6 separate regions of the Homo sapiens genome follow, and regions 2, 3, 4, 5 and 6 are each linked to region 1. Evidence: promoter capture Hi-C in 16 types of primary human blood cells and fetal thymus (Javierre and others, 2016). All regions are on one chromosome and are shown on one strand. Each heading gives the region's core, a stretch centred on a gene start or on the middle of the fragment in contact. The rest is flanking DNA. Distances are from core to core; before and after follow the strand shown. Region 1 holds the start of SSX2IP (SSX family member 2 interacting protein). Region 2 has its middle 41 kb from the start of PRKACB. Region 3 holds the start of BCL10 (BCL10 immune signaling adaptor). Region 4 overlaps C1orf52 (chromosome 1 open reading frame 52). Region 5 overlaps PRKACB (protein kinase cAMP-activated catalytic subunit beta). Region 6 overlaps PRKACB (protein kinase cAMP-activated catalytic subunit beta).

Region 1 (3,192 bases), core at 373-2,872:
GAATGCACAAACAGATATGAAAATCCAAATGCCTTCTATTAAGCAAGACATTAAAGATATGGGCAAAATTTTAAAGTAACACCATTCTTTTAACTAATTTTTTGAAAATAGTTATTTTTAATTAAAATGCGCTATTTGACATTTTTATTTTTATTCATTATTATTTTAAAAAATAGCAATTTTTAAATTTCTGTTTTAATATTAATAGCTGTAACCAACATAAAGAAAAGTTCTTGGGGCTCTCAATAATTTTACAAGTGGAAAGCGGTCTTGAGACCAAAAGATTGAGACCGCTGGTTTATTCAGGCAGATCTTATTCCTTTCCCGGGGTTGCTGAGGTCAGAGCTAAACTTCCCAGAGCTCAACTAAGCTTGGTTCAAACCTTTTAAAAATGTAACTGTTAATGGTAACGCCACCTGGGCTCAACAGCAGCTAGACGGGCCTCTGATTGCTTGGCCAAAGGAAAAGAGGAGGATTTCGTTGGGCCCTGAAGTTGTCACCGTGGCGTGCTTCTTCTGGCCCTGATCTTTCATCCAGGATTGGGGATACGTGCATGCAAACTGGGAGGTGGACATTCCTCCCGCTCTTGTTTTTCAGTGTTAGCATCTTCACTCATACTGTTTTGGTTTCAAAGTGCTCTCAGGAGTCTCCTTAAAACACCAAACCTGTTTTTCGCCTTTTGAATAAATCCCTTGGCTTCACCAAAACTAAACAAAACAAAAATCAAAGAACATCTTTGTGTAACCTATATGCCTGTGATTTCTCCATCTGATCTCCTTTCTCTGGCCTCTTTTCTTTTCTTCCCCAGTGAATTTTAGGCTGCCATGAAACCAGGGAGGAGACAGCCTGACCCTGGCCACGGGTGCAGCAGGCATACATTTTCATCGCACATACTTTGTCGAGTGGGTGTAAGACATTTTTGCATAAACTGAGTTCACGAATGCTATTTCTTAGTCTTTCCTTTGCCCGCGGTCTTCTGCCCAGATCCATTTCTTCGCCCTAATTTTACATATAACTTTCTCCCGGCTGGATTGTTTGCATCCACGACTCCCGACGCTTGAACCTCCCGTTCCTTGGACCTGACCTAATTCTAGGTGCCCGCAGTTTATTTCTCCACTTTGGCAAACGCACGTGGCTCTCCTGGAAGCTTCACTTTTGCTGCTAGGCTGGGTGTTGGGGTTCAGTGGGGCTCGGAAAACGTGCTCTAAAGTAGCCACGACCCCGGTCCCTGCAGAGTCCCGGCCCCCACAGAGCCCCGGCCCCGGACGCTGCAGGCGTCAGAAGGGGGCGGGGAGCAGAAAACGGCCGGGTGAATCACTGGGCGTAACAGGTGCCGCAGCCGCAGCTGCGCCCGCAGCGCGCGCGGACCGCAGGGATAAGGTCTTCTTTTTCTCCGGGTTTTTTTGGAGGTAAGGAGGAGACTACCGAGGCCCCCACCCGACCAATGCAGGCCACGGTTGTTCATCGCCTAGCAACTGGCGGAGCCAATGGGAGGCGGCGGGGCCTGCGGCGCCGGCGCGCGGGGGCGGGGTGGGAACCTCGGAAACCTGCGGAGGCCGGGAGGCGGCTGCAAGGGGCGGGGAAGGCGGGAGCCCGCAGCGGAGGAGGGGCCGCGGGCGGGAGGCGCTGCGAGGCGCTGCTGGCCCTCGGGCTGCGGGAGCCGGGCTAGGACGCCGAGCGGTGACTCCCCGCCGCTCCCGGGGGCCGTGACGGTGAGCAGCAGCGCCTCGCGTCGGGGATTGTGACGCGCCCCGCCAGGGAGGGGCGGGCGGGGGTGGGCGCCGGCAAGGGGCGGGCGCGCGCGGAGGTGAGAGCCGGCACCTGGCTCAGCGCCCCGTTGTTCGGCGGGAGGCTCCGCGCGGCTGTTGGGGCCGTTGCAGGGTGCGGGCGAGCGTCGACCCGGGCCGCTCCTGGAGGAGGAGGTGGGAGGTAGGTGCTGGCCCCGGGACCGCTCTCGCTGGCGTTCGCGGAGCTGCGCCTGCGGAGCGCTCTGACCCGGGGAGCCCCAAACCCTCTCTGGGATGGAGCAAGGTTGGCGCCCGGCGTTGGGGGACGAGCAGCGCGGGGACGTGGGGGAGGAGGGGATGGCCGATTTGGGGCTGCAGAGTCTCAGCAGCGGCCGTGGGGCATGCGGGGTTTGGCGATTTGCTAGTGCAGCCGCAAGAGGCAGTCTTTAAAACGAGTTATTGGGTGGCCGCTGCAGTGGAAGAGAACCCCGATAGTGGTCTAGTAAAAAGTCTAGGGGAAGAATTTACATCATCCAAGAGGCAGGCATGTGTGAAAATACTTTGGTTTATAATTTTATCATGAAAATACTTTGGTTTAGAATTTTATAGTCAACGACAGTAAACTGAATTGTGAGCTCCCTGCACATTTTTTGAGCCTATGCTGATTGCCCAGTTAGGCATATCGCTTGGGCCCAGGACATAGAATATACTAATTTGCTGTCTGCACGTATAATGTAGGAATTTTTAGATTATTACCCAGTTTCAGGACCCATAGTTGTAAATGCCAAACTGCGATTACTAGCAACGCTGATAAAGTTCTTGAATCTGAGAGAATTGAGATTTCTCTTTTCTGGACGCTGTAATAGGTTGAGGATTAGAAAAGAAGGTGATTTAGAAGTGTAAGGGTGGAGGCTTCTTGAACTTCCTGGGCTTTCTAACAATTCAGATTAGAGTCAAGGTGTAGAGTTAGCTGTGGGTGATGGATGTCATGGACCTTTTCATGGTTCATGGGGGTTTGGCTTACTGTGGGGTAGAAGAAAATTCTGGTGATCCTACAGTTTGATCCTGAACTAGAAAGGTTGGTATGAGTTGACTCATTTAGGAGAGTGAATAAAATTTGTAAAGAATTAGAAATTTGGAGAGGAAAGAAATGCCTTTAAAGTTCACGTCAAGCTATTTTGAAATTTAGAAGTTAGAGGTAGATTTATGAATTTGGATCCAGTCGGCAAAACTTGATCCATCAGATCTCTTATCCTAAAACTATCAACCTACAGGCTTAGGAAGCTTAGGTTATTCATTCACACTAAACAAGTAAGGAAAGCTAATAGCTAATTTAACACTCTGTTCTGCCTGCTGTTAATGAAGGTTTCTCAAACAAAACGGTTCTTTGAGAAGAGGGTTAGGAACTGATAATTAAAACGAAGGCTCTTTTAGTGACTGGCTGAACCTCTTAGGCCAAGTCATT
Region 2 (3,192 bases), core at 334-2,833, 590 kb after region 1:
CGGAAGGAAATCAGTATATTGAAGAGACATCTGCACCCCATGTTTATTGCAGCACTATTCACAATAATCAAGATATGGAATCAACCTAAACATCTATCAACAGATTAACAGAAAAAGAAAGTGTATATATATGTATATAAACAATGACCTACTATTTAGACATAACAAAGAATGAAATCCTGTTATTTGTGGCAACATGGATGAGCCTAGAGGATGTTATGTTAAGTGAAATCAGTCAGGTACAGAAAGAAAAATACCATATGTTCTCACCCATATGAGGGAGCTTTTAAAAGTGGAGCTCATACAAGTAGATAGGAGAATTGTGGTTATTAAAAGTTGGGAAGAGAATTAGATAATTGTGGGTTACTACAGATTAGAGAGAGGTTAACTGATAAAAAATCACAGCTAGATAGGAAAAGTAAGGTCTAGTGCTCCATAGCACTGTATGGTGACTATAATTTACAATAATTTACTGTACATTTTCAAGTACAAGAGAGGATTTAAATGTTCCTAACACAAAGAAATGATAAATGTTTATGGTAAGGAAATACTAATTACCCTGATTTGATCATTACACATTACATATGTATCAAAATATTACTCTGTATCCTATAAATATGTACAATTATTATGTGTCAACTAAAAATAAAAGGGAAGGGGAGAACACTAGTTCTTACTGGCTCTGTGAGGTTGGGCAGGTGATAGAATTTTTCTACTTGTGTTTCAGTTATCTGTGTTATGTAACAAACTTAGTTTTCAAACAATCACCATATTTTGCTCACAATTTTCTGGGTCAAGAATTTGGGCAACACACAGTAGGAACTGTTCATCTCTATACCACAATGTCTGGGGTCTAAGCTGGGTGGCTCAACAGCTGCGAGAAGCTGGAACAGCCCAAATGAGGTCATAGGTCTGCTGGCTCACTTCACACTGTTTGCTGAGTCACTCTCTCATCTGTCTTCAGCTGAAGGCTGGGCTGACTAAAAGGCCCATGAAATAATTCACCTTATCTAGTGCTACCAATCTCTCTCTTTCTTTCTCTACCCCCCACCCCCACACCCCATCTCTCTGTCTCTTTCTCTCTAAGTGGCTAGTTGGGCTTTGAACAGCATGTTGGTCTCAGAATAGTCAGACTTCTTGCATAGCAGTTCGCTTAAAAGAGGACAGAGCCTCAACCCTGTAACGGATCTAGCATCACATCCACCATATTATACTGGTTAAAGCAATGAGAAACCCAGCCCAGATTCAGTGGAATGAAGAAATATGCTATGCTTCTAGATGAAAAGGGTGGTTAAGAATTTGTAGCCATCTTCACTTTGTCACAGAATACTCCTCCATTTTCAAAATATACTTTACTCCTTCCAAGACCCCAAGAAGCCTTATCCTAAGGTCCAGGATGTAATCTAAATCAAATGCAGGTATAGATGAGGCCTCTCAGATCCAGTTTCCTGAGTGCAACTCCTCATACTTAGTTTCTCTTAATCTAAAGACTTGTGAACTAAAGAGACAAGTTATCTGCCCAATACACGATGGTGAGATAGGAATAGAAATTGCAATGGATACTCCCATTCAAAAAGAGGGAAAACAAGAGGTATAAACACTCCCTCATCAATAGCAATTCTAAAGTCCAGTTGGGCACATGTCACTCATTCCTTGATTAGTCCTGAGAGTAGTTCTCCTTGTCTCTTAGCTGTACTCTCTGGCTTCTTGGCTGCCCTCTCTCAATCATTCTTTCACATGAAATGGCCTATGTGAAGAGGTGAGTAGCTTTTCAGCCTGCTTCCTTTCCACAGTAGGTGAGGGCCCGTACACTTTTTTCCTTATTAATTATCTCTGACCCTTTCAATCAACATTAATACAATTTCTTTTAAAACTCTGTGGGTTTCTCATATTATCAAATTCTAATATATTCCAAGAGACAAAAAGCCACATCCACATTCCCTTTGGAGAGGGCTTTCTCTACCTTGGGCCTCACATAAGACTGCTATGGGACAAGTCCTTAAGATTTCTAAAAACCCCAACTGTCTAATTTAGAGTAACGTGAGCCACACACAAGATTCTCTTTTTGCATTTTTGTTTTCATTTTTTATTTTTTTTGAGATGGAGTCTCGCTCTGTCGCCTAGGCTGGAGTGCAGTGGCGCAATCTCGGTTGACTACAACCTCCGCCTCCCAGATTCAAGCGATTCTCCTACCTTAGCCTCCCAAGCAGCTGGGACTACAGGTGCCCAACACCACGCCCAGCTAATTTTTGTAGTTTTGTATTTTTTTTTTTTTTTAGTAGAGATGGGGTTTCACCACATTGGCCAGGCTGGTCTTGAACTCCTGACCTCGTGATCTGCCCACCTCGGCCTCCCAAAGTGCTGGGATTACAGGCACACACAAAATTTTTATAAGCCTTTCAGTCTAAATAAAGGTCTGTGAGACATCACTTTAAATTATCTGAGGTCATAGCAAAGGGTCTTACAGTATTTTTTAAAAGGTAGTTATTTTACTTGTTAAGAAAATTTTTAAGTCATGAGATAGTAATAAATAATTATCATAAAAATATAACTGCAGGCAGCTTTGAGGCCCTCCTTCTTGAACACAGGAATCTAGAGAATTCTCTAAATCTTTATTAAATAATAATTATCTCATTTATTATGTAAATCACTGCTCCCTGTATTTAGATAGATTAAATTCCTGTTACAATTTGGCACTAGGAAAGTGGCTTTATACTGTATCCTCACCATGTAGTGCTAAATTTTATGCTCAAATACAGTAACTAGCTTCAACATCGGTTTATTGGTTCAACCATCTTCTTGCCTTTGATTTCAAGGCTCTTGTATTTATAATTTTGCTTTAAAGGTTATATATGCCTTCTATTGAAAAACACCTGAAATCTTTTTTGGCTGTGGTAATGGGAGATGAGGAGGTGATAAGAATGAGTAATAAATGTAAGTTAAAAAGAAAGTAGGAAGTTCCATTTCTGGCTTGGGAAAATGAACCACCAACCCCCAAACCTGTCAGGGCTTAAGGAAAAAATATGCCTACAGGACATTTTTATGTGTCAACTTGGCTAGGGTATAGTCGTTAGTTATTCAACACTGATCTAGGTGTTGCTGTGAAGGTATTTTGTAGATGTGACTAAAGTCCACAGTCAGTTTACTTCAAGTAAAGGAGATTACCATAGATAATTTGGGTGGATCTGACTC
Region 3 (3,192 bases), core at 469-2,968, 590 kb before region 1:
AGGAGGAGGTTGCAGTGAGCAGAGATCGTGCCACTGCACTCCAGCCTGCGTGACAGAGCGAGATTCTGTCTCCAAATAAATAAATAAATAAACTTAGATAAAATTTTTCAAGTGCCTACCTCGTCTGCCCCAAACACAAATAAACTAGAATATAAATTCCATGAGGAAAGAGATTTTTATTGGTTTTGTTCACAGCTGTTTTCCTAGCACCTAGAACAGTGTCTGGCACATAGTGGACATTCAAAACACATTTGTTAAATGAAAGGATTCATCCTAAAGTTAAGGATGGTTCAGTAAATCGGATGGAAGATGATGAAAAATTAAGCAATTAGAAAAAAACTGTCCTTGTGTAATGTGTCAACATGGAAACAGGACATAATGTAAACATCAGAATCCCTTGCTGTGATTCTGGTTTTTGTGGCTCTGGTTACATTGTTTTTTTGTGTGTGTTTTTTTTTTTTTTTGCTTTCCCGTTTCTTAAACATTGGCGTTCCCAAGTTTCTCCTTGGTCCTCCTGTCATTTTTATCTACTCTCGTAGCTTCAAATACCATCTAGTTTATAGTTTATTTAGCATGTTGTCCAAGCCACCGTCTTGGGCCCAGGGCTCTACCTGTAGCTTTTCATCCACACTTCTCAGGTTGCTTCTTACACAGCGCCATAGTAGTTAAAATACGGTCTGGGGATAGTCGTCTCTTCATCAGTCTCCCCCTATAAAATGGAGGACTCATAGTATAAGTTGCCTAGAACATATTAGTAAGGACTCAATAAATGTTTGAGTAGGATGAGCTGGGTGGCTCATGCCTGTAGTCCCTGCACTTTGGGAAGCCGAGGCGGGTGGATGGCTTGAGCCCAGGAGTTTGAGACCAGCCTGGGCAACATGGCGAAACTCCATCTCTATAAAAAATACAAAAAAACTAGCTGGACTCCCAGCTGCTTGGTGGCTGAGGTGGAAGGATCGCCTGAGCCCTGGAGGTGGAAGCTGCAGTGAGCCGAGAATCGCACCACTGCACTCCAGCCTGGGCGACAGAGTGAGATCCTGTCTCAATAAATAAATAAATAATCAGTTGAGTGCATACTGTGTGCCCAACTACCTTTAAGAACTTTACATATGATCCCGGCAGCCCTAAAAGGTAAGCATATCTATCTCCATTACACAGATTAACTAATGAGGAAAAGCTATGTTTATAATGAACAGTGACCAAAAAGTATGCAAACGTTAAATGAGGTGTTAAAGTGGTGGGATTGTAGGTGGTTTCTTTTTTTCTTTCAAAAATTTGTTTAGTATTGTAGTTAGGCTGTTTGTGTGTATGCATGTGTATGTGTGTATGAGTGCGTTTGTGTGTGACCAAAACAGTAACTGGCAAACGTAACAACAGGAAATTGTAGGGCAGGGTCTGGGAAAAGGGGAGGAACCCAAGGTACTGACAAGCCCAGACCGGACTCCCCCGAAGTGAGCAGGCAGCAAAGGCTGAGAGTGCCAGCTGCCTGGGCACTGACGGACCCCACCCACGGAAACGATGCCTTATGAGGAAGCTAACCCGGGCCACTTACCGACGACCTGCGCAGGCGTGGCTTGAGGAAACGCCCGCTGTGGGCGGAGCCACCCGAAAGGCTCCGGTCGGGGGCGGGAACAGGATCGGCCCGCGGGCTGGCGTCGATAGGCTGCCGCAGAGACAGGGCGGGCTCTGCTAAGCGACGCGCCTCGCCGTGGGGCGGTGCCTGCGCCTGAGCCTCTACGAGAGGGAAGGAACGCTGCTCCGAGCTCCGCGTCGCGTCGCGTAGATTCGCGTCGCCGTCGACCTCAGAGGCGGGGCCGGAAGCGCTACGGTTTGACCCCCGAGTCCCTCTGTTCCCGAAGGGGCGGCCGTCTTTCTCCCGACCCGCTCCGCCTCCTCTCCTTCTTCCCCATTACCCGGAGGCCGAAGCCCCCAGCCAGGGCGGGGCGGCGCAGCCCGAGCTCCCGGACCCGGAAGAAGCGCCATCTCCCGCCTCCACCATGGAGCCCACCGCACCGTCCCTCACCGAGGAGGACCTCACTGAAGTGAAGAAGGACGTGAGTAACGCAGCTGTGCCCAGGGCGGGCGGGGGCGGGCTGCAGCCCAGCGGGAGACGAAAGCGGAAGCCTGGAGTCCGAGGACAAGGAGGATCCTCCAGGTCGGAGGAGCGGAAAGTCCTAGCACAGGAGGACTGTGGCGAGCCCTGCATCCGAGGGACCTTGGTGGCAGTGATCCTCCAGTGATCTGTCAATCCAGGTTTTACATCGCTAAACGCAGAGCTTGGGCTTTGTTGCCAAGTGGTGTTTTGATTCTTGCCCACTCCTCACCCATCTCCTCATGCTTTCCCCCCAACTGGGTTCTTGGAGATGCTTCGTTAGGGACTGGCGGCTCAGATTCATCCTTAAGTCAGGCTGCCTAGGCTGCTCACTCAGCCTAGAGCGAAGGCTGTACCAGGTGAAGGATCCCAAGCAGTGGACCAAAAATGTGAAGCTCTTTTGCATAAGGGGGCTTGAGGAAGCTCAACAGCTGAAAGCACAACCTGGAATTCCCCTAGTAAGCAGACGCCCACATATTTAAATTGGGGTTGGGGGAGTGAATACACGTAGCTGAGAATTAATGTACAGGTAAACGTCGAAAATATTCAGTAGCTAAATTATGCTCTTCTCGGATGGTGCAGAACCACATAAACCTTCATATTTATTCGTAACGAATGGCTTTGTTGAGATATGACATTCTTTTTCCTTTGCGTTTACTTGTTTTGTCAGATGAGACCTATATGAGTATCACTAAAATACTTTATCTGAAGTCAAATGAAAAACAGAAACTCAACATGAAACGTGTTCTTATTGAACACTGCAGTACTTTTACAAAGTCATTTTGATGAACTGGACAGGATGGCAACTTTTTAAATGTTCATCCACTTCAAATCCCTTCCTCTTCCCTGTAAGGTTTATTACACTGTACTCACAATTGGTGTGACTCACCAGCAGAAGGAAACTGGATATGACTGGGAGTTGTGCTTAGTTTCCTCATTCAACAGAGATTTATGGAGCACTTGCTATATGGAAAGCACTGGCCTTGGGTCTGGAAGGATACAAAAAAATGAAGATCAGTTTCCTGCTTTACATTCTAGTTGAGATAAGAATGGAACATAAATAACTACTGTAGAATAAATGTTGTCTTATTCATGGTGAG
Region 4 (3,192 bases), core at 230-2,729, 560 kb before region 1:
AACTCATCATTGGGTCTTGCTGCTTATCAGCCCTTCGGGTTTTTTTTTTTTTTTGAGATGGAGTCTCGCTCTGTCGCCCAGGCTGGAGTGCAGTGGTGTGATCTCGGCTCACTGCAACCTCCGCCTCCCGGGTTCAAGCGATTCTCCTGCCTCAGCCTGCCAAGTAGCTGGGACTACAGGCACACGCCACCACGCCCAGCTAATTTTTGTATTTTTAGTGGAGATGGGGTTTCAGCATGTTGGCCAGGGTGGTCTCGATCTCCTGACCTCGTGATCCGCCCGCTTCAGCCTCCCAAAGTGCTGGGATTACAGGTGTGAGCCACCGCACCCTGCCACTTCTGGTTTTAGTGGTTGTAAAATGTAGGTAAGCAAAGCTTAGTTATTAGTTGTAGCTTTATTGACATGTATAATAATTAATTGTAAAAGCATAATTAATATAGTGATTTTTAGTTTACACTTTTTAGAATTTAGAAAGTTTGTCTATTGATAAGTTAAACTTACTTGAGTGATTTGAGTTCCATAATAAAAAAATTGTTTCCTTACCAGTACATCTATACTATATGAGACCGAGTAAAAAAGCTCAGTAAAATTGATAAATGAACATTGCTCAGATTTTTTCCTACTCTAGTTTATAAAGCAATGCCTTGTCATGACACTAGATGGCATAGCACTTCTGCTCAAATCACTGATAGCCAGTTACTTTTTAACTTCAGTAGTTTGTGGTTTTGTTATTCAGTTAATTTACTTGTAATAAGTGGCAAATTAAAAGCAAAAATATCTCAGTATCATCTAAATGTATGCTAATGCATAGTGAATATTATAGTAAACTTAGTACTTTCCATTTTTATATTATCACTACTGAAAATCTCAAAAGAGGAGCTTAGTGATAATTAACTCGTTAAAAAGCAAAAGGTGCCGGGTGCGGTGGCTCACGCCTGTAATCCCAGCACTTTGGGAGGCCGAGGTGGGTGGATCACGAGGTCAGGAGATAGAGACCATCCTGGTTAACACCGTGAAACCCCGTCTCTACTAAAAATACAAAAAATTAGCTGGGTGTGATGGCAGGCACCTGTAGTCCCAGCTGCTTGGGAGGCTGAGGCAGGAGAATGGCGTGAACCTGGGAGGTGGAGATTACAATGAGCTGAGATGGTGCCACTGCACTCCATCCTGGGCAACAGAGCAAGACTCCATCTCAAAAAAAAAAAAAAGCAAAACGTTTGGCTTGTTTTGGTGGTATACCATGTTATTTGGTTTGTGGAGCCAGTGTTTTTGTATGAACATGATGAACTACTGATTAAAACTTTGATTTGTAAATTCCTGGGGTGAGTTGATCTGAATTGTATTTTATTCCACTGCCTACATAAATCCATAGTGCTCTGTGAAGCATATGAATAACATCACCGTGCTGTGCTTGAAGGGGAGTGAAGATGAATGGTATTGATTGTTATCTGCATCAATAAATGAGATATTCTGATTATGGTACAGTCAGCAGAAGGGAATTGAAGGCTTAAGATTTTAATATTTCCTTCAAGGAATTTATGATTTGATGTCAGTAGTTCCTCACATTTTTTAATAATGAAGGCTCCTTTCAATATCAAGATATTTTATAGATCTCCACATGATAACCTGTTGAACTTTTTGAGTATCTGTTGATCAAGAAAATAAAGTCAAAAGCTACAATTAATTAGTAATGTGCTCAAAATAAATTTGTATTTTATAAATCATAACATCTTTTCCATGTTACTCTGTCTATATGGAGTTCTTAATACCACACATTTGCTTAGGGAGATGGAATTAGCAACTAGTCTGTGCTACCCTGTATTTTTTTTTTAACCATGTAGTTGGATTTTTTAAAATACAATAAAAGAGTTCACTTTTCCAGGTTTGACAACATTTTTATGAATTGGAAATTTTCTGTGGCTACAGATACTATTAACATTTTGGAAAGGTGTAAAGAACATTGTTTTAATGTAAGGCTCTTCTCTAACCTCCCTCCCCTCTCCAAATTCTCCATAATATGAAGTAGGAAGATATGTATTTTTCTGTTGCCATTAAAATGTTCTGGCCATCGTGGGAGTGGGGATGGGGAGGGCGGGGATGGGAATTAGAACTTACTAGAATAAAATTCCAAATAGAGGTTTGGGGAAACCTACTTGTGAGTGCTTTTTAACCTCAAAATAAGGATTTGGGGTGGGTGGAGAAGGTGATGGGGCAGAAGAAGTTGTTTTTGGAGGAGAGAAAGCAGATTGAAAGGAAAAGGACAGCTGATAGCCACTTAAATAATGTCATCGTTAGAGTGATACCTATTTTTTGTAAAAAGAAAACAATATGCTCCATTCTTACAAAGCATTGATTGTATTTTAATATATACAATGTAAATACTATCATGCAGTGGTGTCCAAGGGAGAGAATACAGTCATGAGTTCTTAGTTTCTGTTATTGGTTGGGCCAATAAAGCCCCTTCATCATCCTTCTTTTCTGCTTATCACTAGAGACAGAAACTAAAAACCATGGCTTCAGGCTGCTAAAAGCCTAAAACAAAACAGAACAACAACAACAAATAAGGCAGGTTGGACAAGCTTGCTGAGTATTTGGGAGCCTTTTTCAAAAGTCTGATTTGGGGGAAGTAAAGTCACTTATTTTAAGCTACCTTAGTATAGCACCTAAAGAGTTACTTTGTGAATTTTGTATGGCTGCAATTGAAAAAAAAAATTGCTCACTTTCACTTGCATTTAAAAATCAGAGCTCTAAAAGTTAATTCTTGTTTTTTATTGGGAAACTCTGAGAGAAACATTAATTGATGAGGGTAATAATTTTGGTATAAAGCCAGTGAAATTTTAATGCTTAACATGTTGGGTTTTTTAAAATTACTGATTGAAACTCTTCCTTTTCTATTTAAAGATGATGAAAAAGATGAGCATACTTCTAAAAAGCGCAAAGTAGAGCCAGGAGAACCAGCAAAGAAGAAAAAGTAGAAACAAATGACCAGAATTTCTGTACTGCTAAACTTGTTGAAATGTTTCTTTGGACAGATTAAGTTGATATTGTGGGTTATTATGCCACATCTCCATGAAAATGCATACGTTAATGAACTAATAAGTATTGCCTCAAGAACTTTCCACTATAGAATTCTTTTTTTATTTAAAACATGTATGTATTTAAAACTCAACTGGTGACTTGTGATTGTGAAAT
Region 5 (3,192 bases), core at 235-2,734, 540 kb after region 1:
ACATAAAAATGGTCAATGGGTATATGAAAAATGCTCAACATCACTACTCATGAGGGTAATGAAAATTAAAATCACAATGAGCTACTACCTCACATCTGTTAGAATGGCTATTATAAAAAAGACAAAAGATAACAAGCACTGGTTAAGACCTGGAGAAAACAGAACCCTTGCACACTGTTGGTGAGAATATACATTAGTACAGCCATTATGGAAAATGATATGAAGGATCCTCAAAAAATTAAAAATGAACTATCATATGATCCAGCTTCTAAGTATGTATCAAAAGAAAGAAATCAGTATGTCTAAGAGATATCTAGATATCTGTACTCCCATGTTCATTACAGCATTATTCACAAGATATGGCATCGACGTATGGTATTCTACACACTGGAATACACTATCAACCTTAAGAAAGAAGGAAATTCTTTCATTTGTGATAGAGTGAATGAACCTGGAAGACATTATATTAAGTGAAATAAGGCAGACACAGAAACACAAATATTGCATAATGTCACACATGTGGAACCTAAAAACATCAAAATCGCAGAAGTAGAGAATAGAATGCTGGTTGTCAGGGGCTGAAGGATGGGAGGGTTCAGGGAAGGAAGATTTAGGAGATGTTGGCTAAAGGGTACAAAATTTCACTTAGACAGGATGAATAAGTCCTGGAGATTCATCGTATAGAATGGTAACTGCAGTTAATAATAATGCATTAATACAGGCACACCCCTCATTTTATTGTGTGTTGCTTTATTGCACTCAGCAGATATTGCACTTTTCACAAATTGAGGGTTGGGGCAACCTTGTGTCAAGCAAATCTGTTGGTGCCATTTTTCTTACAGCATGTGCTCACTTCATGTCTCTGTGTCACATTTTAATAATTTTCACAATATTTCCTTTTTCATTATTATTATATCTGTTATGGCGATCTGTGTTCAGATGTTACTATTTTAACTGTTTTAGGGCACCACAAACTGCACCCAAATAAAATGGTGAGCTTAATTGATAAGGGTTGTGTGTGCTCTGACTGCTCCACTCACCAGCTAGTCCCCCATTTCTCTCCCTCTCCTTGGGCCTTCCTATTCCCTAAGACACAGCAATACTGAAATTACGCCGATCAATAGCCTTACAATGGCCTCTTAGTGTTCAGACGAAAGGAAGAATTGCACATCTCTCACTTCAAATCAAAAGCTAGAAATGATTAAGCTTAGTAAGGATGGTATGTTGAAAGCTGAGACAGGCCAAAAGCTAGGCCTCTTGCACCATACAGCCAAGCTGAGAATGCAAAAGAAAAAAGTTACTGAAGGAAACTAAAAGTGCTGCTCCAGTGAACACACTAATGATAAGAAGGCAAAACAGCCTTATTGTTGATATAGAGAAAGTTGTGTGGTCTGGAAAGATCAAACCAGTCATAGCATTTCCTTAAGCCAAAGCCTAATTAAGAACAAGGCCTTGACACTCTTCAATTCTATAAAGGCTAAGAGTGGTGAGGAAGTTGCAGAAGTCTGAAGCTAGCAGAGGTTGGTTCATGAGGTTTAAAGGAAAGAAGCCCTTTCTATAACATAAAAGTACAAGGTGAAGCAGCAAGTGCTAATGGAGAAGCTGCACCAGGTTATCCAGAAGATCTAGCTAAAATAATTGATGAAGGTGGCTAGACTAAACAACAGATTTTCAATGCAGAATTAACAGTGCTCTATTGGAAGAAGATGCCATCTAGAACTTTCCTAGCTAGAGAGAAGGCAATGCCTGGCTTCAAAGCTTCAAAGGACAGGCTGACTCTCGCTAGGGGCTAATACATCTGGTGACTTCAAATTGAAGCCAATATTCATTTACCATTTAGAAACTCTTAGTGCCCTCAAAAACTATGCTAAATCTACTCTACCTGTACTCTATAAATGGAATGTGAAAGGCTAGATGACACCATATCTGTTTGCAGCATTGTTTACTATTTTAAGCCCACCATTGGGAACCACTCAGAAAAAGATTCCTTTTAAAATATTAGTGCTAATTGACAATGCACCTGATCACCCAAGAGCTCGATGTACAAGGAGATGAACGTTGTTTTCATGCCTGATAACACAACATCCATTCTGCAGGCATGGATCAGGTCTTATTATTTAAGAAATATATTTTATAAGGCTAAAGGTGTCACAGATAGTGATTCCTCTGATGGATCTGGGCAAAGTAAATTGAAAACCTTCTGAAAAGGAGTTACCATTCCAGATGCCGTAAGAACATTGTGATTTATGGGAGGAGGTCAGAATATCAACATCAACAGGAGTTTGGAAGAAGTTGTTTCCAACTCTCATAGATGCGTTTGAGCGGTTTAAAATTTCAGTGGAGAAAGTCACTGCAGATGTGGTAAAAAATTACAAGATAATTAGAATTAAAAGTGGAGCCTGGAGATGTGACTCTATTGCTGCAATCTCCTGATAAAACTATAACGAGTGAGGAGTTGCTTCTTGCAGATGAGCAAAGAAAGTAGTTTCTTGAGATGGAATCTATTTCTGGTGAAGATGCTGTGAAGATTATTGAAATGACACCTGAGAATTTAGAATATTACATCAACTTAGTTGGTAAAGCAGTAACAAGGTTTGAGAGAACTGACTCCAATTTTAAAAGAAGTTCTACTGTGGGTAAAATGCTACCAAAAACATCACATGCTACAGAGAAATCTTTTATGAAAATAAGAGTCAGTCAAGTGTGTCACTTTGTTGTCTTATTTTAAGAAATTGCCACTGCCATCCCAACCTTCAGCGACCATCACCTTGATCAATCAGCAGGCAAACATCAATGCAAGACCCTCCACCAGCAAAAAAATTGGGAAATGCTGAAAGCTGAGATGATCATTAGTATTTTTTTAGCAATAAAATAATTTCAAATTAAGATATGTACTTTTAAAAAGATATAATGTTATTGCACACTGAATAGACTATAGAGTAAACATAACTTAAATGCACTGGGAAACCAAAAAATGTGTGACTTGCTTTACTGTGACTTTAGTTGTATTGTGGTGGTCTGGAACTGGACCTGCAGTATCTCTGAGGTATGACTACATGAAAATTGCTAAGAGATTCAATCTTAAATTTTTTGCCATGAAAAAGTAACTATGTGAGGTGGATATTCATTTGTTTTAGTCATTTCACAATGTATACTTATATTGAACCATCATGTTGTACATTATAAATATAC
Region 6 (3,192 bases), core at 284-2,783, 520 kb after region 1:
TTATACAGGGGGCTAAGAAATCCTAAACTGTATGCATTAAACAACCTATCATCCATCTCTGTTAGGCCATTTTAAACGAAAGCCCCACCAAGGTCTAAAAATGTCCTCAGGGCAGTTGAAGTATGCTTCCCCTTACAGCTCTGGTTCTCATTTACCACTTCAATTTTTGCACTTTGGGAATTTATTTAATTTTAATTAAATTAGAATTCACTTAAAGGGTAAATTCAGGTATTCATTTAAAGGGGCACTTGTTACAGTTTATTCAGCATTTCAAGGTGCTGTTGATCTTAAATAATTTCTGCCCTCAAAAGATTTTTAAGTTATCTAGTCTCCAATTTTGCATTTTTTTCTTTATAGGACAAGCTTCATGTTAGATTGTAAGATGCAAAGACATCAGAATGTTTATGGATTTCATTTTTTTATGCTGGAAATTCCAAATGCTCACCAGGATGTATTTAGGCATTGGCATCTTTGTTAATCTTGTCAAAACAAAATGAGGTCTTTCAATTTAAAGATTCAAGTTTTTCTTCAACTAACAAGTTTTCCTGAATCATATTTTTGATTACTGCTTTTCTGTTCTATAAATCATATCTGCTCTGTTCTGTGGAATGCTATCCATTCAATTTGTAAAATGTCCTTTTATTTTCTTTTATAATTTCTTGTCCTGCTTTTATTTAACATACTTTCCATCTTATAATTTTTATCTTGTCCATTTCCTCTACATTCTATTAGGGTCTATCTGGAGAGATCTTCACATTATTAATTTACTTTTCTGCAATGATTATTCTGGTTTTTATTGCCTCTAATGCAGCTTTATATTCTAAAAATGCCAGGTTTATTTCTTACAACTTTTTCCTATCACAACATTATGCTTCTTTTCCATTCCTGCCTCTCAGCCAGTAATCTTTTCATTCTAGGTTCTTGTTTTATCTTTGTTTCATGTCTTAGTTCACTAACTCCATGCTCACTTGAAATTTTAAGAATTAACACAGATGGCATCTATAATTTTTTGTGTTTATACTCTCCTGCACAAATATTTTCTAAATATAAGTTCATTCTCTACCTCTTGGAGACTGTAACTTTATCGTTTTATGGTGTATAACCTCTTTTATAGGTTCCACATTGTTGCTTTTCTTTTTTATTCATTCAAGAACAATTACAAGCTTTTCAAAACTTTACAAATGCCCCAAATAAGGTAAGTGGTTTTTCTTTGGCCCTTCTCATTTCCTGTTTAGATGCTGTTAGACTAAACTCTTCACATCATTTAGCGTACACATATTTACATTATCAGGTAAGTAATCCAGTGACCTTCATAAATGGGAATGTGGCCAGGACTATAGGATTCCTTGCTGGTAGTGATGCCTTCTATGTCAGGAAAGAGCCTTCTATATTTAAAGAGAGGCCACTTTTCAACTTGAAAAGGCCTAATACATTCTTGGTTGTCCCACTATAGCTGTTTTAGAATGAAAGTAATGAGCAGTGTTGGATCTTCCACTTATTTTCCTCATCCCTCCCAGTTAGTGAGGGTGAAACTATTATTTCTTTCTTTTCCATAAAGAAAAGCTACTCAAGTTAAAACTGTTAATTAGACTTTGGAGTCTGATCATCAAAATCCTGTACATATTTGGGCAAATAACCATCTTTAATTTCAGAAATGATGTACTGCTTTCCCAATTTTTTTTCTCACAGTATTTTCAGTCAGAATCTAGAAAGGGAAATTAATGAAGTGTTGGTATTCAAGTCTGTATGGTGCTGTAATTCATAGCAGATTCATGCCTTCTTCTTCAGAGATTTGCCCTCAACTACAGCTGGGCCAGGATTCTCACCCAGGATTTTGATATAATGATGCTAGTTACATCAAAAAGCACATGAACTAGGAGAGCACATAAACTTTGAAGCTTTCAGATGACTAAGCTCCATTTTGCACAAGCATCAGAGAAACCTATTCGCTACACAGTGAGGATAATAAAGCAAATACAAGGAAAAAAGTAAAGACGTCATGTGATCTCAGAGAGAAAAACTGAGAAAGGTACTGTTATGATTCCAGTCAGCTTTCCAAATCAATTCTACTCTTTGGAACAGCTCAACTCTACTTTTGCCTTTGAGCTCCATGACATCCTCTGCATCCCAATAATACCTGTATCTTCTTCTGCTTAAGCTTATTTGAGTGAGTTGCTACAACCTCTAAACATAAGGGCCTTACAATAGTTTGACTGATTTTCAGAGAAGTTCCTTTAGTATTTCTTTATAGACCTTGTTTGCTTAACAAGGGCAAAAACTTCACAAAAAGAGTTATGAGTAAGAAAAACATTTAGAAAGTGAAGGCTCTTTTCACATATAACCAATTTTTTAAATACTAGAAAGATAAAGGTACTGACTGGTACAATTTAGTTTCTTAAGCATTTTATATGACTTCATCCTACAAAGTTGATAAAGGAACAAGTAAATACTATGGTTATTGTATTTTTCTGAACCAAAAAAAGTCAAAACCCACACTGGTATTTTTCACTGGCAATGTAAGGGAACTGTTCAAGTATGTAAAAATGAATTATATTTAGTTTATCATTAATTCTATAAGTATTTATTGGGTACCTTGCTGTGTTTGGGGTACTGGGGTGACTACTAGAAACATACAATGAATAAGGCACTGTCCTTGACTTGAGTTCAACATTTAGAGATTAGAAAGTGACATACAAATTTATAATTTCAATATAATACAATAATTGTTGTAGTTTGTAAGTTTGCTTTGGGAGTACAGAGAAATCACCTAATTCCACAGGGTCAGTGTCGGAGGTAATGACTGGTTCTCTAAATTTTTATGATAAAGACTATAAATATGGAAAGGTAGCAAGGAATTATATGTAATATAGTATGGCTAGATCAAAATTTGTGAGAGAGATTTTGCAAACAAAACCAAAAAGGTAAGTCATTGATTGCATGTGACCTAATAAGGAGTTTAACTTTTATTTTAAAGGCAATAGGGAGTAACTGAAAGTTTTCATGTTAGTTTAAAAAATGGGCATATTTGCATTTTAAAATTTTCAGTGTGGAAAATGGCCTGGAAGGATATAAAACTGGAAGCTGGGAGACCAGTAATGCAGTTATTATAATAGGATTGAGAAGAGATCTAGAAGCCATCCCAGTGTCAGTAAGACTGGAGAATATTGAGTGATTTTTGATGTAGAATCAATA

The links. The method cuts DNA at HindIII sites, captures the fragments that hold promoters and counts their contacts. A CHiCAGO score of 5 or more calls a contact.
Region 2: a contact is called between a fragment that was not itself captured here and the fragment with the promoter of SSX2IP in region 1, in 4 of 17 cell types (erythroblasts, total B cells, non-activated CD4 T cells and 1 more). The highest score is 8.9, in erythroblasts.
Region 3: a contact is called between the fragment with the promoter of BCL10 here and the fragment with the promoter of SSX2IP in region 1, in 3 of 17 cell types (naive CD8 T cells, activated CD4 T cells and total CD8 T cells). The highest score is 5.8, in naive CD8 T cells.
Region 4: a contact is called between a fragment that was not itself captured here and the fragment with the promoter of SSX2IP in region 1, in 6 of 17 cell types (total CD8 T cells, non-activated CD4 T cells, naive CD8 T cells and 3 more). The highest score is 6.8, in total CD8 T cells.
Region 5: a fragment that was not itself captured here is called in contact with the fragment with the promoter of SSX2IP in region 1 in 12 of 17 cell types (erythroblasts, fetal thymus, monocytes and 9 more); the score reaches 10.5 in erythroblasts.
Region 6: a contact is called between a fragment that was not itself captured here and the fragment with the promoter of SSX2IP in region 1, in 7 of 17 cell types (total CD4 T cells, total CD8 T cells, total B cells and 4 more). The highest score is 8.9, in total CD4 T cells.

Annotation. Positions count from the first base shown.
Region 1 is chr1:84,688,891-84,692,082 of GRCh38, reverse strand. It overlaps SSX2IP (SSX family member 2 interacting protein), which reads left to right and starts at 1,622. Exons shown (of 14, transcript NM_001166293.2): 1 at 1,622-1,712. RefSeq lists a silencer at 1,411-2,170. The HindIII fragment of the contact is 1,864 bases long and covers 1,150-3,013 here.
Region 2 is chr1:84,101,292-84,104,483 of GRCh38, reverse strand. It overlaps a transcript of PRKACB not described here. Among named protein-coding and RNA genes, the nearest start is that of PRKACB, 41 kb to the left of the region's middle. The HindIII fragment of the contact is 3,291 bases long and covers 1-3,192 here.
Region 3 is chr1:85,275,158-85,278,349 of GRCh38, reverse strand. BCL10 (BCL10 immune signaling adaptor) reads left to right here and starts at 1,718. Exons shown (of 3, transcript NM_003921.5): 1 at 1,718-2,054. The coding sequence starts at 1,998. BCL10-AS1 (BCL10 antisense RNA 1) reads right to left here and starts at 1,992. Exons shown (of 2, transcript NR_045484.1): 1 at 1,553-1,992; 2 at 262-709. RefSeq lists enhancers at 1,418-2,120, 1,326-2,525. The HindIII fragment of the contact is 19,185 bases long and covers 1-3,192 here.
Region 4 is chr1:85,252,412-85,255,603 of GRCh38, reverse strand. C1orf52 (chromosome 1 open reading frame 52) reads left to right here. Exons shown (of 3, transcript NM_198077.4): 3 at 2,902-3,192. The coding sequence ends at 2,975. Among named protein-coding and RNA genes, the nearest start is that of C1orf52, 5.7 kb to the left of the region's middle. The HindIII fragment of the contact is 2,205 bases long and covers 377-2,581 here.
Region 5 is chr1:84,150,973-84,154,164 of GRCh38, reverse strand. All of the region lies in intron 1 of PRKACB (protein kinase cAMP-activated catalytic subunit beta), which reads right to left. Among named protein-coding and RNA genes, the nearest start is that of PRKACB, 8.3 kb to the right of the region's middle. The HindIII fragment of the contact is 552 bases long and covers 1,209-1,760 here.
Region 6 is chr1:84,167,071-84,170,262 of GRCh38, reverse strand. All of the region lies in intron 1 of PRKACB (protein kinase cAMP-activated catalytic subunit beta), which reads right to left. Among named protein-coding and RNA genes, the nearest start is that of PRKACB, 24 kb to the right of the region's middle. The HindIII fragment of the contact is 735 bases long and covers 1,166-1,900 here.